5 separate regions of the Homo sapiens genome follow, and all the other regions are linked to region 1. Evidence: promoter capture Hi-C in 16 types of primary human blood cells and fetal thymus (Javierre and others, 2016). All regions are on one chromosome and are shown on one strand. Each heading gives the region's core, a stretch centred on a gene start or on the middle of the fragment in contact. The rest is flanking DNA. Distances are from core to core; before and after follow the strand shown.

Evidence for each region. Contacts are between HindIII fragments. The CHiCAGO score rates a contact against its expected background, and 5 or more counts as called.
Region 2: a contact is called between the fragment with the promoter of TWSG1 here and the fragment with the promoter of RAB12 in region 1, in 11 of 17 cell types (activated CD4 T cells, total CD4 T cells, naive CD8 T cells and 8 more). The highest score is 16.0, in activated CD4 T cells.
Region 3: a contact is called between a fragment that was not itself captured here and the fragment with the promoter of RAB12 in region 1, in 5 of 17 cell types (total CD4 T cells, naive CD8 T cells, activated CD4 T cells and 2 more). The highest score is 9.4, in total CD4 T cells.
Region 4: a contact is called between a fragment that was not itself captured here and the fragment with the promoter of RAB12 in region 1, in 1 of 17 cell types (naive CD8 T cells). The highest score is 5.9, in naive CD8 T cells.
Region 5: a contact is called between a fragment that was not itself captured here and the fragment with the promoter of RAB12 in region 1, in 1 of 17 cell types (naive B cells). The highest score is 6.2, in naive B cells.

The regions. Positions count from the first base shown.
Region 1 is chr18:8,608,003-8,610,702 of GRCh38, reverse strand. RAB12 (RAB12, member RAS oncogene family) reads right to left here and starts at 1,266. Exons shown (of 6, transcript NM_001025300.3): 1 at 750-1,266. The coding sequence starts at 1,263. RefSeq lists an enhancer at 1-28 and silencers at 479-778, 1,209-1,438. The HindIII fragment of the contact is 24,115 bases long and covers 1-2,700 here.
Region 2 is chr18:9,333,326-9,336,025 of GRCh38, reverse strand. TWSG1 (twisted gastrulation BMP signaling modulator 1) reads right to left here and starts at 1,253. Exons shown (of 5, transcript NM_020648.6): 1 at 1,106-1,253. TWSG1-DT (TWSG1 divergent transcript) reads left to right here and starts at 1,557. Exons shown (of 3, transcript NR_183523.1): 1 at 1,557-1,889. RefSeq lists enhancers at 653-702, 465-965 and a silencer at 763-1,552. The HindIII fragment of the contact is 11,774 bases long and covers 1-2,700 here.
Region 3 is chr18:9,516,757-9,519,456 of GRCh38, reverse strand. RALBP1 (ralA binding protein 1) reads right to left here. Exons shown (of 10, transcript NM_006788.4): 3 at 2,154-2,612. It also overlaps the pseudogene RNU2-27P. Among named protein-coding and RNA genes, the nearest start is that of RALBP1, 43 kb to the right of the region's middle. The HindIII fragment of the contact is 156 bases long and covers 1,277-1,432 here.
Region 4 is chr18:9,575,647-9,578,346 of GRCh38, reverse strand. PPP4R1 (protein phosphatase 4 regulatory subunit 1) reads left to right here. Exons shown (of 20, transcript NM_001042388.3): 10 at 1,156-1,283. Among named protein-coding and RNA genes, the nearest start is that of PPP4R1, 38 kb to the left of the region's middle. The HindIII fragment of the contact is 828 bases long and covers 1,036-1,863 here.
Region 5 is chr18:9,187,635-9,190,334 of GRCh38, reverse strand. The region is part of intron 2 of ANKRD12 (ankyrin repeat domain 12); the gene reads right to left. Among named protein-coding and RNA genes, the nearest start is that of ANKRD12, 52 kb to the right of the region's middle. The HindIII fragment of the contact is 181 bases long and covers 1,340-1,520 here.

The DNA.
Region 1 (2,700 bases), core at 17-2,516:
CAAGTCCTCTAAGCATGACTTAATTAAAAAAATTTCCCCTGCAGTTTCCATTTCAGATCCACGGCTGTTTTCCTCCTTGACCCTGGAGCGTTCCTGTACTTACTTCACTCCTGTCCCTCACCGAAAACAGCGGTACTGGAGGAATCAACCCCATGCCCGCCAGTCACCGGGTTGTTTGAGGTCATGGATAAATACAGCTGAAGCTCCTCTGCCCCGTACGTACGGCTAGCACGAGAAACTTACTGTAGTTTTAGTTTTAACATTCTCCATAGGTGACTTTAAACTTCATTTCTTGAAAATGGGTTCAAAATAAGAAAACTGCCCTGGTTGCGCAGGGATCACACCCGCAGCAGACGGCGCGCGCTGGCCTTGGCGGGCCGGGCGAGAGCGGCCTTAGGCGTTCACTCCCCTGCCTGCCTGCGCTCCACTCGAACCCAGCTTTTTCTTGGGCGAGTATGCTAAGGGCCGAAGTTTCCGTGGAGAGCCGCCCCCACAGGCCCCGGGGGCTGCCAGGACCTCTGAGGCAGGGCCGGGGGCCAAGGGCAGGTCTGCCCGGAGGCGGCACGAAAACCTCTGCCAGGCTTTGGGATTGGGATGCAGGGCGCTCCAAGGAGACCCCCGCCCCTAGTTTCACCGAGAGGCCCATCCCCGAAAGACTCCCAGGCTCGATGAGACTCGAAGCCCACGGGGCGAAGGGCACCTGCCCGGGCGCCAGGAGGCCCGGCCCAGGGTCGCCGTGGCGCCCTTACCCACGGTGGACTTGCAGGCCTCGCAGAAGGTGTCGTCGGTGAAGCGCTCCATCAGGCTGGTCTTGCCCACGCCGCGGGAGCCGATAATGATGACCTGCAACTTGAAGTCGGCCGGCCTGGGGGGCTGCTTCCTCCGGCGGCCCTGGCCGCCCGACAGCGCCGGGGAGCCCGCGCCCAGACCGCCGCCGCCCCCGGCCCGCCTCTGCAGCGCGGCGCCCGGATCCATACACGCATGCGGCTCCCGCTCGGCCCGCCGCCCGCCGCCGCCCGCCCCCCGGCTGCGCGCCCCGGGCCCCGGCGCCCCCTCGGCCTCCGCCGCGCGCGGGGGGTCGGCCCCGGGCTCGGCTTCCGCCCGCTGGAGCGGCCCCGGCGGCCCGTGGGCTCCGCGCTGCAACTGCGCCGCCGGCCGGCTCTCTGCGCCCGGGTCCCCTCCTCCTCCTCCTCCGCCGCTGCCGCCGCCGCCGCCGGGAGAGGAGGAAGGGAAGCAGCTACTCCGCAGTAGCGGCAGCAGCATCCCGGACGAGGAGGGGCAGGAAGCGCAGGCGCGGGCGGGGCGGCTGGCCGCGAGGGGCCGGAGGCGGGCGGGTGGGCGCCCCCTGCCGGCGGGAGGACCGCGCGCCCGGGCCTCGGTTGGGTACTGCGCGCGGAGCTTTCCCGCAACCCGCGCCGCTCTTTCCCTGCCTCTGCTCGCCTGCCCGCCCCCGCTTCCCTCCCTCTTCCGCCGGCTCTTTCATCTTTTCTTCCTCTTATCTCTTCCCTTTTCCCCCTTTTCACTCCTCCCTACTCGGCTTTCACTCTGACCCGCATTTATAGTTAACACAAGAAACTTAGTGTGGTTTTAGTCTTAAAATTCTCCGTAGGCAATTTTGAACTTCAGCATTCCGGTGCATCATGAAAATGGGTTCAAAATAAGAAAAAGAACCCTGGTTGACAGTGAAAACACTCCCATGCGCACAGTCCCCAAACACCATGCACATGTTTTCGCCCCCGCGCGCTCGGTGTAGCTGGAACGCTGGAAAGGCCCCGACCTGAGGCCGCGCCGCCGGGCCGCCTGCGCTGCGTTCGCGTCTACACCAGCGCTCTCTCACAAACACCAGCGGGTGCAAGCCCCCGCACCCTCTACCGGGCCGTGGCACTGCTCGGTCTCTCTCCGTCACGTCTGTCTCCCATTTTGCACGGAAACGCGCGAAATCAGTTATTTTTAACTCTGATCGCTGTCTCACTCAGAGTTCAGAAGTTTTTATGCTGTTTAATTTTTAAATTAAGTAAATGGCATACTCCTTTGGGGGAATAAGCGAGTTAAAACTCAAACAGTGCGAGAAGATTGAAACTTTAGGAATTATGGACTCGGGTCGTATGTTTTGCCATTTCTGTTTGGAAGGATTTAAGGATACAGAAAATCACTGCTGATTCCTTGCCAGAGATTTGTTTAGCAAATTCCTCAGCTTGAACTTGAGCATCTCAGAACACAGGGTTCTGAATATGATAGGGGCTGGCAACATTTGCCGAATGATCACGTTACCCACAAAATTTCAGCTGTGCTGTATTTAGAACTAGGTTTAGTAATGCACAGTACACGCATATGTTACACAGCAAACCTGATTTGTAAAAATCTAGCGTTGCCCACAGTGTAGATTGGAAGTTTACATCTATGAGAGCATTCTTAACTGTGCAGTCACTGTAGGGATCTTTATAATATGAATTCTGAGAATATGTAAAATATGATCCCTCTATATTATTTGAAACACAGATCCATCACTTACCATCACGGAATTTACTTTCTTTCTTTCCTTCTTTCTTTCTTTTTCTTTCATTTTGTTTTGTTTTGATTTTGAGACAGCCTTGCTCTGTTGCGCAGGCTGGAGTGCAGTGGTGCGATCACAGCTCACGGCAGCCTGGAACTCCTGGGCCCAAGTGATTTTCCTTGCTTAGCCTCCTGAGCCGCTGAGAC
Region 2 (2,700 bases), core at 4-2,503, 730 kb before region 1:
GACTAGCACAAACACAGTCTGACAGGGGCCAAACAGTATACAGTTATTAAACTTTAAATACGGGAAGATATCATTTCTTCAGGTTAAAACACCTCCCTATCAAACATAATAAATTAAAATAAATGACTACTGACGTAAGAGGGATAAATAGTGAGTTTATGGGGGCATTTATGATTACTCTAAACTTTTATTCTAAGTGTTACAAAGTACATTAAAGGAAAAATAATAAAAGGGTGAAAAGAATAAAGGGCTTTGGACCTGGTATGAGTCAATTTTGAAAGAGAAAACCCTGGTGATCGTTACTGAGGCTCACAAAGCATTCCCTAAAGACCGTTAGTAACTAATTTTCTAATGTATCTAACGCCGCATACCAAGTAGGATGATTTCTGGAGCAACCAGTACATATTTGCGGAGGCCAAATAAGGTTATTTGGAGACTAACTGTCGTGGAACTAGTTTTCATCCTACAACCATGAAAACTGGGATTTCCCCCCTTTCCCATCTTTTACGGTTGTCTTATGAAATGTTCCACAAATTCATCTTACTCCCCAAATTTCACTGGAAAAAGTATTCAAGTAACTACGACCATGTCGAAATCAGGTAATAGAATTAAAGGACTTATCTTTTCCTAAGGAGTTAGAAACCATCATGCATCAAAATTGTTTCGCATACATCACGCCCAAGTTTCTCGTTAAGGGAGATGGCACTGACAGCGACCAGGGCAGAGCCGAGCCTCTGTAGAGCGGTGCCAGGGCCCCGAAGGCGCCGGACGCCCCGCGAGGCAGAGGCCGGTAGCGGTGTGGGGGACCGGGCACCCGGAACCACCCCCACCCCGGCTCGGCCGACGCGGGCTGCGGAGGACGCGGGCCGGCCCAGAGATGGTCTGGACCAAAGCGGCGCAGAGATGCTGCTGGCTCCCGGCGTCCGGCCTGTGCGCCCGCGCCCAGCACCCCCACTTTGTCCTCCGCGCAGCCGGGCCCAGGCTTCTCCCGGCCCCCGCGAAGCTCGCCGCGGCCCCGGGCCTCTAGAGGGCCGAGCTCGGCGCCCGGCCCCTTCCCAACCAAGAGGCCAAGAGGCTGCACAACCCCCCAGCCGCTCCCACTCACCATGCGCCACGGTCCCGCGAAGTCGCCCACCCCTAGATCCCCGCCGGGTCGGCCGAGCCCGGGGCGCGCTGCGGCGGCTTTGAGTGCGAGGCCAGGCCGCGCCTCCCGCCGTCCCCTCAGCGCAGCGCCCGCGAGCCTCGGGCACCTTAAAGAGACAGGCCCGCCCGCCGCCCTCCTCCCGGCTCCTTGCTCCCCGCCCCTGCTCCCCTCTTCCCCTCCGCCCCCGCTGGGGTCCACAGCCGCCAGCTCCCGCCAGGAGGCGTCTCTCACTCCCCCGGCGCTCCTGTCAGCGCGCACGCCCCCATCTCGGCCCCGCCCACTCCCCCCGCCCCTCCCAACGCCACGCCCCCTCCGCGCCACCCGGTTTCGCCCCTCCCTCGTGCCACGCCTCCACCGCAGGCTCCCGCCCGCCCGCCGGCCCGCAGGCCACGCCCCCAGGCGCACCCACCCCAGCTGCTCAACGCGATTTCCCTTCGCGCTTCTCCGCACCGGGATCCCCAGTCCCTCAGGTTCCGACAGACCCTCCTGTCAGGCCCATTCTCCGGGCCCCCTCAGTTGCAGTGTTAAGATCAACAGTGTTAAGATTAAAGCCTTGTGATGTGCTAGCCACTACGCTGAGGATATGCCGTGTACTAAAATTCCTCAGGACTCCTCACAGCTGCCCTGTAAGGAAGCGGCCATGGCCGGGTTCTAGCGATGCGAGGCCGAGGCTCGGGGCGCTGAGTAGCCTAGCGCGTCGCCGAGGAGAGCTGGCACGTGAACCCCTTGTCGTTTGCCGTCAGAGGTAGGATTTATATAAAATGCGCGTTTCCTAGGTCTACCTCAGACCTACTGAATAAGGATCTCCAAGGGTAGAGCTTTCGAACTTCGTTCACCAATTCGATAAAACTTGCCAGGCTCCTTGTGAGTGGCTGGCGCTGAGCTCTGCATCGGAGCTCTGCATCGGGAGTCGAGAAGAGGGGGCGCCATGGATCCGGGCGCGGAGGTCGCGCAGCCTAGGTAGAAGGTGCGCGGTTAGCACGTAGGTTAAAAACATTGAGAATGACACTCAGTTCTTTCCCACAACTCTGGGTTGCTTTTTTTTTTTTTTCTTTTGAGACAAGGTCTCACTCTCACCAGGCTGGAGGGCAGTGACAACATCAGGCTCGCTGCAGCCTCCACCTCCTAGGCTCAAGCAATCCTCCCGCCTCAGCCTCCCGAGTAGCTGGGGCTACGGGCGCGCACCACCACGCCTGGCTAATATTTTATTTTTTTGTAGATATGGAGGTCTTGCTATGTTGCCCAAGCTGGTTTCAAATTTCGGGGCTCAAGCGATCCTCCCACCGCGGTCTCCTAAATCGTTGGGATGACAGGTGTGAACCATAGTGCCCGGCCGGAATTTGCTTTTTAAAGAAGATTCCAGGGTGATTAAGTTAGAGCCCGCTAGACCAGACCGTCCGCGGGGCACCTTCCCTTGGAAATGATGACCTAGTGTCAAACCCTTATGCTGGTAAATCGTAAATGCCTACCACCCACCTTTGTTGATTGGAAGGAAACAGAATGAAAACAGCTGATTGGCTGGGGGTGGATTGCATTACTGATGTTAGCCCACTTTT
Region 3 (2,700 bases), core at 105-2,604, 910 kb before region 1:
AACAAAACTAATTCATGGCTATTAAGACCATGTGAGAGAAGCAACTTATGTTATTAATGTTTAAATGTTTAAAACTCAATTCAGTATATTATTATTATTATTTATTTATTTTTTTTTTTTTTGAGACAGAATCTTGCTCTGTTGCCAGGCTGGAGTGCAGTGGCGCGATCTTTGCTCACTGCAACCCCTGCCTCCCGGGTTCAAGCTATTCTCCTGCCTCAGCCTCCCAAGCAGCTGGGACTACAGGCGTGCGCCACCACTCCTGGCTAATTTTTTGTATTTTAGTACAGACAGGGATTCGCCATGTTGGCCAGGATGGTCTCAATCTCCTGACCTCGTGATCTGCCCACCTCGGCTTCCCAAAGTGCCGGGATTACAGGCGTGAGCTACCATGCCTAGCCAATTATTCATAAAAATCAAATATTTGTTTAAATATATTTATATAATACTAAGGAGTTATAAACTCAAATTCAATGCCTAATTTATTTAATTTTCTATAAAAAAGTAACATTTTACCAAAAATACTCTTAAATAATGGCATGTAATCTAGTGGATTATGTAACGGTTTTCCCAATTATCAAAAATATCTGCCCTTTCTCAGCAAAACTTAAGTATCAAATCTACCTTCTAGAATTGCGTATGAACCAACTAAATGAAAAAACTAAGTCTATCTCTCTATATATTCCACATGTGTATGACTTAACAACTCATCATGAAAGTACTTGTGACCAACAAGTATTATTATTATTATTTTTGAGACAAGGTCTCAATCTCGCCCTGGCTGGAGTGCAGTGGTACGATCATGGCTCACTGCAGCCTCAAACTCCTGGGTTCAAGTGATCCTCCTGCCTCAGCCAACAATTAACTTTATAAAACAAATCTCTAAACAGAAACTGATGAGGTACCAAGACACTGAATAATGGGAATGTAATAATTTGGAACACAGATGCTGCTACAGGTCAGGGCTTTCATCCTATCCTGGTATAAAAGTCATACCGCTTTCTAAGAAATCTTTTTACTTTTAAATAATATACATATTGCTTGATTTAGATACCCAATCAAAACACATTCTTTCCAAGTATGAAATTTAATTTGTATACATATGGAATAAAGATAAATAGAAAATCCATTTTGCTAATATACGTAATAGTTGCATGTAGCTGACCAAAGCATTCACATGTGGGGCCTAAACATTTACTGCTTCTTGGTCTTTTGGCTAAAGTTGGGTGTAGTATCTGTTCTAGGATTTCTGGAGCAGGGAGATGGAACAGAAGCTTGCTTGGACCACTCCATGTATTGACCGGGTACTGCACTAACTCTAAGAACCGCGCACCAAGAAAACCAAAACCAAAACCATGTCATGCCTCTTAGCTGAGCTAAGGAAATGCATTATATGACTGTGTCCATAAACGTGTCTCTTGGCCAAGAAGCTTCCTTCACACAGTTAACCTTTCTTTTCTTGCTGATGGCCCTCATACCACTGAGCCTCTGCTTAGAGAGGAAAGAAAAAAAAAAAAAAAAAAGCAGGCGCCTGGGAGTGGTGGCTCACTCCTGTAATCCCAGCACTTTGGGAGGCCGAGGAGGGCAGATCATCTGAGGTCAGGGGTTCGAGACCAGCCTGACCAACATGGTGAAACCCTGCCTCTACTAAAAATACAAAAATTAGCTGGGTGTGGCGGCAGGCGCCTGTAATCCCAGCTACTCAGGAGCCTGAGGCAGGGGAATCGCTTGAACCCAGGAGGCAGAGGTTGCAGTAAGCCGAGATCACGCCACTGCACTCCAGCCTGGGCAACAGAGCGAGACTCTGTCTCAAAAAAACAAACAAACAAAAGAAAAAAAAAAGCAGGGTCTGAATGCAGCCCTGTTAAGCAATGCTGCCAGTATACTTCACTTTGTTTTAGTCCTGGCTGCTGCAAGCTATGAACAACTAACGTGAAATCCTCCTAATGGAAGGAAATATTAAAAAAACAAATGCCAGAACACCAAAGAAAGGCTGGGGAGAGGGGTGGATTTTTGTGCAACTGGTAGGATCAAGGAAATGAATAAGGCTTAGGATCCAGGCCAAATTTTCCTCACAATAATTTTTCTTCCTTCGAAAAATGAAACTGAAGTTATTATTAAAAACCATCAAGTGAAGTGCACATTCCCAGTACCTGATACTCTGTAGATGCCTTCACACTTCATGCCATACTTCTCTACGTAATCTATACATTCACGGAAAACGGCTGGCAGCCGAATGCCATCATACATCATGGTCCTCTCTACTGCATCAGCCAAAGGAATTCCAAAAATGGGTTTGAGATTTGGAACATCAATCTGAGGCACCTCTGGCTCCTGAATTGGCTTTTTCTTTTTCTTCTTTTCCTTCCACTGTTTAACAACATCAGCTGCTGTCAAGTCTTTTGACTTCTTCTCTTTATGTTTTTCTTCTTTGTGCTTTTCTTCTTTATGCTTTTCTTCTTTGGGTTTCTCTTTTATTTTAAAATCCTTTTCCTTCTTTTTAGAAAAGCTGGGCTTCTTGAAAACATGGATTCCCTTGGACCTCTTCATTTTAGAAGGACTTTCTGCCTCATCTCCAGAGCTATCTTCCTGAAAGGCTGCATAGCCTTCAGCTGCCAAAGAAACAGAGACAGTATAAGTTATATGTTTGTTTAATGTCAAACTGTCCATATGCTTTCTAAAAACAGAACCAAAAAACGG
Region 4 (2,700 bases), core at 200-2,699, 970 kb before region 1:
GGAAGATCACTTAAGCCAAGGATTTTGAGGCTGCAGTGAGCCATGGTAGCACCACTGTTTTCCAGCCTCCACAGCAGAGCAAGAGCTGTCTCAAAAGGAAAAGGAATGCTAAACTTCAGGGAAATTGGTGTGTGGCAAAGTCAAGGTTTTAGTAACATACCAGTTTCCCATTGTTGTTGCCTTTGTCCGATTGTGTCCATCCTTCCATAAAACCTCTCATTTTCAAATGTTTTAAAAATTCCTGATTTTAAAAATAATACAGAAATACGACATGAAGTGGAATTCTATAACTTCTTTATCACCCCTCCTACATGAGACAGTCATCAAGAACAATAGTATATGCTTCAAGATCTTTGTGACATACTTTAAGTTAACATTATGTTTCTGGTACGTCTGTCTTGCTTCCTTCTAGTGAACAAATTAAAGTCTTTCCTACCTGAAAACATTAAATGTATTTATCACATTTTGTTGGCTTTATTGATTTTTATGTTCTTTGTGGCACTCTTGGTTTTCCTTATTCTTTTTGTTCTTGAGAACACAGCAGGACCTTCTTTAGTTTTGTTCTATGCAAATGTTTCATAGTATCTCATACTTAGATTATCATGGTTCAAACATTCAAGAGAGGATAAAAACAATTGAAAGTAAAAAAGAGCAAATAGGGGTTTGTTTGGGGTTTTTTTTTTAGACAGTCTTGCTCTGTCACCCAGGCTGGAGTACAGTGGTGTGATCACGGCTCACTACAGACTTAGCCTCATGGGTTCACGCGCTTCTTCCACCTCAGGCCCTGCCGAGTAGCTGGGACCACAGGCATGCGCCACCACGCCCTGCTAACTTTGGTATTTTTTGTAGAGACTGGATTTCGCCATGTTGCCCAGGCTGGTCTCAAACTGCTGGACTCAAGCGATCTGCCCAGCTCAGCCTCCCAGAGTGCTGGGATTACAGGCATGAGCCACTGCGCCCAGCCAGAGAAAATAGCTTGTAAGAATTTTTCAGTCCTAGCTAAAGTTCTGAATCTGGGCTTCCTTTAGAAAAGCTTCATTATTATCCTAAACATACTTCGGCATTTGAAAGTAGATTATTAAATATACATAATGTGTGCGTATATAATTCTTTTTCAAAATGATTCCTTTATTATTGTCCTTTTTATCTTCCTAGGTTCGCCAAGCAGCTTTTCAGTCTCTGGGACCTTTCATATCTACTTTTGCTAATCCATCTAGCTCAGGCCAGTATTTTAAAGAAGAAAGCAAAAGTTCAGAAGAGATGTCAGTAGAAAACAAAAATAGGTATAATTTTGAAACCATTTTCTAATTTTAAAACCTTGTTTTCTAATTTTACTGCTTTTAAACATTATTTCCACTATTCTGCAACAAATGTTATTTTTTGATAGTTTGCTATTTCTCTTGAATATAAAAATTGGTGAATATTTTTATAGAGCTTTACTTTAAGCGCATTTGTTTGTTAAGTATCTCTTTGGTTGGTTACATATTGAATGAGTAGATGCATGTAACACAATTAGCTAGATGCCTCGCACATAGGAAACTCTAAATGGTAGATTATGACTTTTAAAAAATGTTTATTTAGTACATTATTTAGTCAATCATTCATTGATATCTACAATATACAGGGTAATTGTTACACACTGTGTAGTATTTGGGTTTTTTTAAATTTGTTTTTAAGGAGTAAAACTTAATTTAGGAATATGTTTTATTGTCCTTTTCTGTCAAATAATTTAGTTGCGCATCTTGGATTCTTTGTCAATGGTGATTGTAATCTGTCAGTTAAAGGAGAAAGCCAGTATATTAGCCAGTATATCAGTTTTAAGTATATCAGTCTCATAAGGAAACCAAAGTTTTAAATAAAGCTTAAAGAGTCGGCTGTGATTTTTATTTTTAAATGTTTTTGCATTGAAAATTTTCTATTAAATTTAAATTTTAAAAATTTATTATAATATATATTTAGGGGAAAAACTAATTCAAGCCTAACTTACTAGTATGCGGGAAATGTACACAAACTTTTACAGTTATGCACTTGAAGTAATTTTAGTACAAATATTTGAAACAGTCCCTGCTATAATGCTTGAGTTACCATAGTGTCTTTTCCCTCCCTTGTCATGATGCTAATGGACATTTTCTTCTGTAGGTCTTGATACTGTGCTATTTGCTTTCTTGGTGTTTTGATTTGGCAGTTCTTCTTTCTTCTCTGCTGCCTTGTTTTACCTTTTTGCCCGTTCTCCTACTGTCCTGCTGAATAGCCAAACAAACCTGAGGTACTGTTTTTTGTAAAGGAAGAAAATCACTCAAACCTGTCTTCCTAGCAAGCAAAGTCTGTCAGTTTTTTTGAAAACAGGTGCTGCCAGGACTTTGACAAAAGTGATGATGGTGGGTGGGGAATGTTATCTATTTTTCATTTTTGAAATCAGCATACTTAAAAAATTACCTGTTTATACTGAAGACTGTTACATAACTTCTGTTTTAAAATCTGAAATGGGTCTAGTAAGAAACTATAAATTTGCAGAGAACTGTATAGGACGAGCTGGTAAACTTTCTTCTGTTTCACAACTACTCACTCGGCCTTTGCAGTGTATAAGCAGCCGTAGACATTACATAAATGGACAAGCTTGGCTGTGTTCCAGTAAAACTTCACTGACCTCAACAGTGTGCCTATCAAGGCCATGTTTGCCGCCTACCGGTGTGTAGCATT
Region 5 (2,700 bases), core at 181-2,680, 580 kb before region 1:
CAATGAAATGGAGCTTCAAACCAAGTGTTTTGCTTATAAGGTTGTTTTAAAAGTAGGTTTCAAGTTTGATCATGAGATTTCAGCAATTCAGTCACATCTTCAGGCTCCACTTGATTCTCATTCTCTTGCGTTTTCCAATCCCATCTACAGTTAGTTCCTCCACTAAAGTCTTGACCCTCTCAGTCATCCATGAGTGTTAGAATCAACTTTTCCAAACTCTGGTTAATATTGGTATTTTGACTTCCTCTCATGAATCACAAATGTTTTTAATGGCATCTAAAATGGTGAATCCTTTCAAGATGGTTTTCAATTTTTTTGCCCAAATCCATCAGAGGAATCACTCTCTATGGCAGCTACAGCCTTACAAAGCATACTTCTTTAATAAGACTTGTTTAAAAAGTTAAAATTATTCCTTGACCTATGGGCTGCAGAATGGACTGCATGTCAGCAGCCATGAAAACAACATTATTCTCTTTGTATGTCTCTGTCAGAGCTCTTGGGTGACAGCTCACTGACATGTTGTCAATGAGCAGTAATATTTTGAAAATAATCCTTTTTTCTTAGTAAGTCTCAACAGTAGGCTTAATCTATTCAGGAAACCATGCTGTGAACAGATGTGCTGTCATTAGGCACTGTTTTTCCATTGATAAGGTACAGGCAGAGTAAATTTCACGTAATTCTTATGGGTCTTGGCGTTTTTGCAATGGAAAAAGAGCACTGGCTTTAACTTAATAGTTGTCAGCTGCATTTGTCCCTAACAAGACAGTGAGCCTGTCCTCTGAAGCTTTGAAGCCAGGGATTGACTTCTCCTCTCTAGCTTTCAAAGTCCTACATGGTATCTTTTTCCAATAGAAGGCTATTTCATCTATACTGAAATCTGTAGTTTAGTGTAGCCATCTTCATCAAAGATCATAGCTAGATCTTCTGGATAACTTGCTGTAGCTTCCACATTAGCACTTGGTGCTTCACCTTGCACTTTTATGTTATGGAGACAGCTTCTTTCCTTAAACCTCATGAACCAACTTATGCTAGCTTCAGACTTTTCTTCTGCAGCTTCCAAACCTCTCTCAGCCTTCACAGAATTGAGGAGAGGGCCTTGATCTGGATTGAACTTTGGTTTAAGGGGATGTTGTAGCTGGTTTGATCTTCTATCCAGACCACTCCAAACTTCCTCCATATCAGCAATAAGACTGTTTTGCTTTCTTATGGTGTGTTCACTTTAACAGCACTTTTAGTGTTCTTCAAGAACTTTTCCTTGGCATTCCTCTCTTGGTTAACTGGCACAAGAGGCCTAGCTTTTGACCTCTCTCAGCCTTTGACATACCTTCCTCACTAAGCTTAATCATTTAGAGCTTTTGACTTAAAATGAGAGACATTCCACTCTTCACTTGAATACTTAGAGACCACTGAAACACAACAATTTCAAAATTGTTGTTTTAGGAAATAGGAAGGCCCAAGGAGGGGCGGAGTTGGGAGAGAAGCCAGTAAGTGGAGCAGTAGAACACATACAACATTAAGCTTGCCATCTTTTCTGCATACAGTGTGGTGCCCACAAAACAACTACAACAGTAACAAAGATCACTAATCATCATCATGATAATGAAAAAGTTGGAAATATGAAAATTATCAAGATGTGACATAGAGACAAGTGAGTACATGCTGTTGGAAAAATGTTGCCAATGAACTTGCTCAACACAGGGTTGCCACTAACCTTCAATTTGTAAAAAGCACAATTATCTGCAAAGCACAATAAAGTGAAGTGCAATAAAATGAGGTATGCCTGTAAACCAAAATGTTAATAGCTATCTGTAGGTGGTGCCATTACAGCTGTGTTGGGACATAATTCTCCATGTCTCTCTTGCATTTTTGCACATGTTGCGAGCAGACACACTAATTTCCTTTGTCCTGGACTATCTTTTCATGGGTATTTGTATGATAAACAGCCTCGAAAGACAGAGGTAGTGTCTCCCTCTAAAGCTAAGGACATACCTGTTTGCTGTCCAGTGTAATAATGTCTCCTTCTAGGGAAAAGTTCAGGCAGACTTACTGCCCATCATAAAAGATTTGGGGTTCCTACCCTGTAATACAACCCACTGCATATGCAGTTGTCATCTGCCCATCACTGCATCCCCCTTGTGAGAAGCGAGGCTCAGGGAACAGGCACAAACAATGATACTCTGGCTACTGCTATTGCTGAATAGCAAATATTCCTTCATCACTGACCTAGGAATTGTGTCTTCTGCCAGCATCCATGAAGCTAATTAGCTTACAAGTAGGGTAAAATCTCAGAACCTTCACAGTTGTTGACAAGGTAATAGGTAATTTCTATTTTCATTATTCTTATATGTATTTTCTAATTTTTTACAACAAACATGTATTATAATACTTGGATAATAAAAGAAAAAATTCTCAATAGTCACTTGGAGAGGAAATAATGAATGTCTGAACTACACTGATGACGAAAAGGATATAACAGAACTATTCAGATGGTTAAAATAATTAATATCCCCTCTCTCACATTTTATGAATTTAACCAGGTTTTAGACTATCTTAACAGAGTTTATAAAAGATTCTGCTTTGCAAATTTTAAATACTGATTTATAGCTAAAAGAGTAGTGGAGACATTTCTAAACTAAACTAGAATCAATGGGGGGAAAAGACCACAGATGAGCAGTGAAAGGTGTGAACATTCTTGTCAAA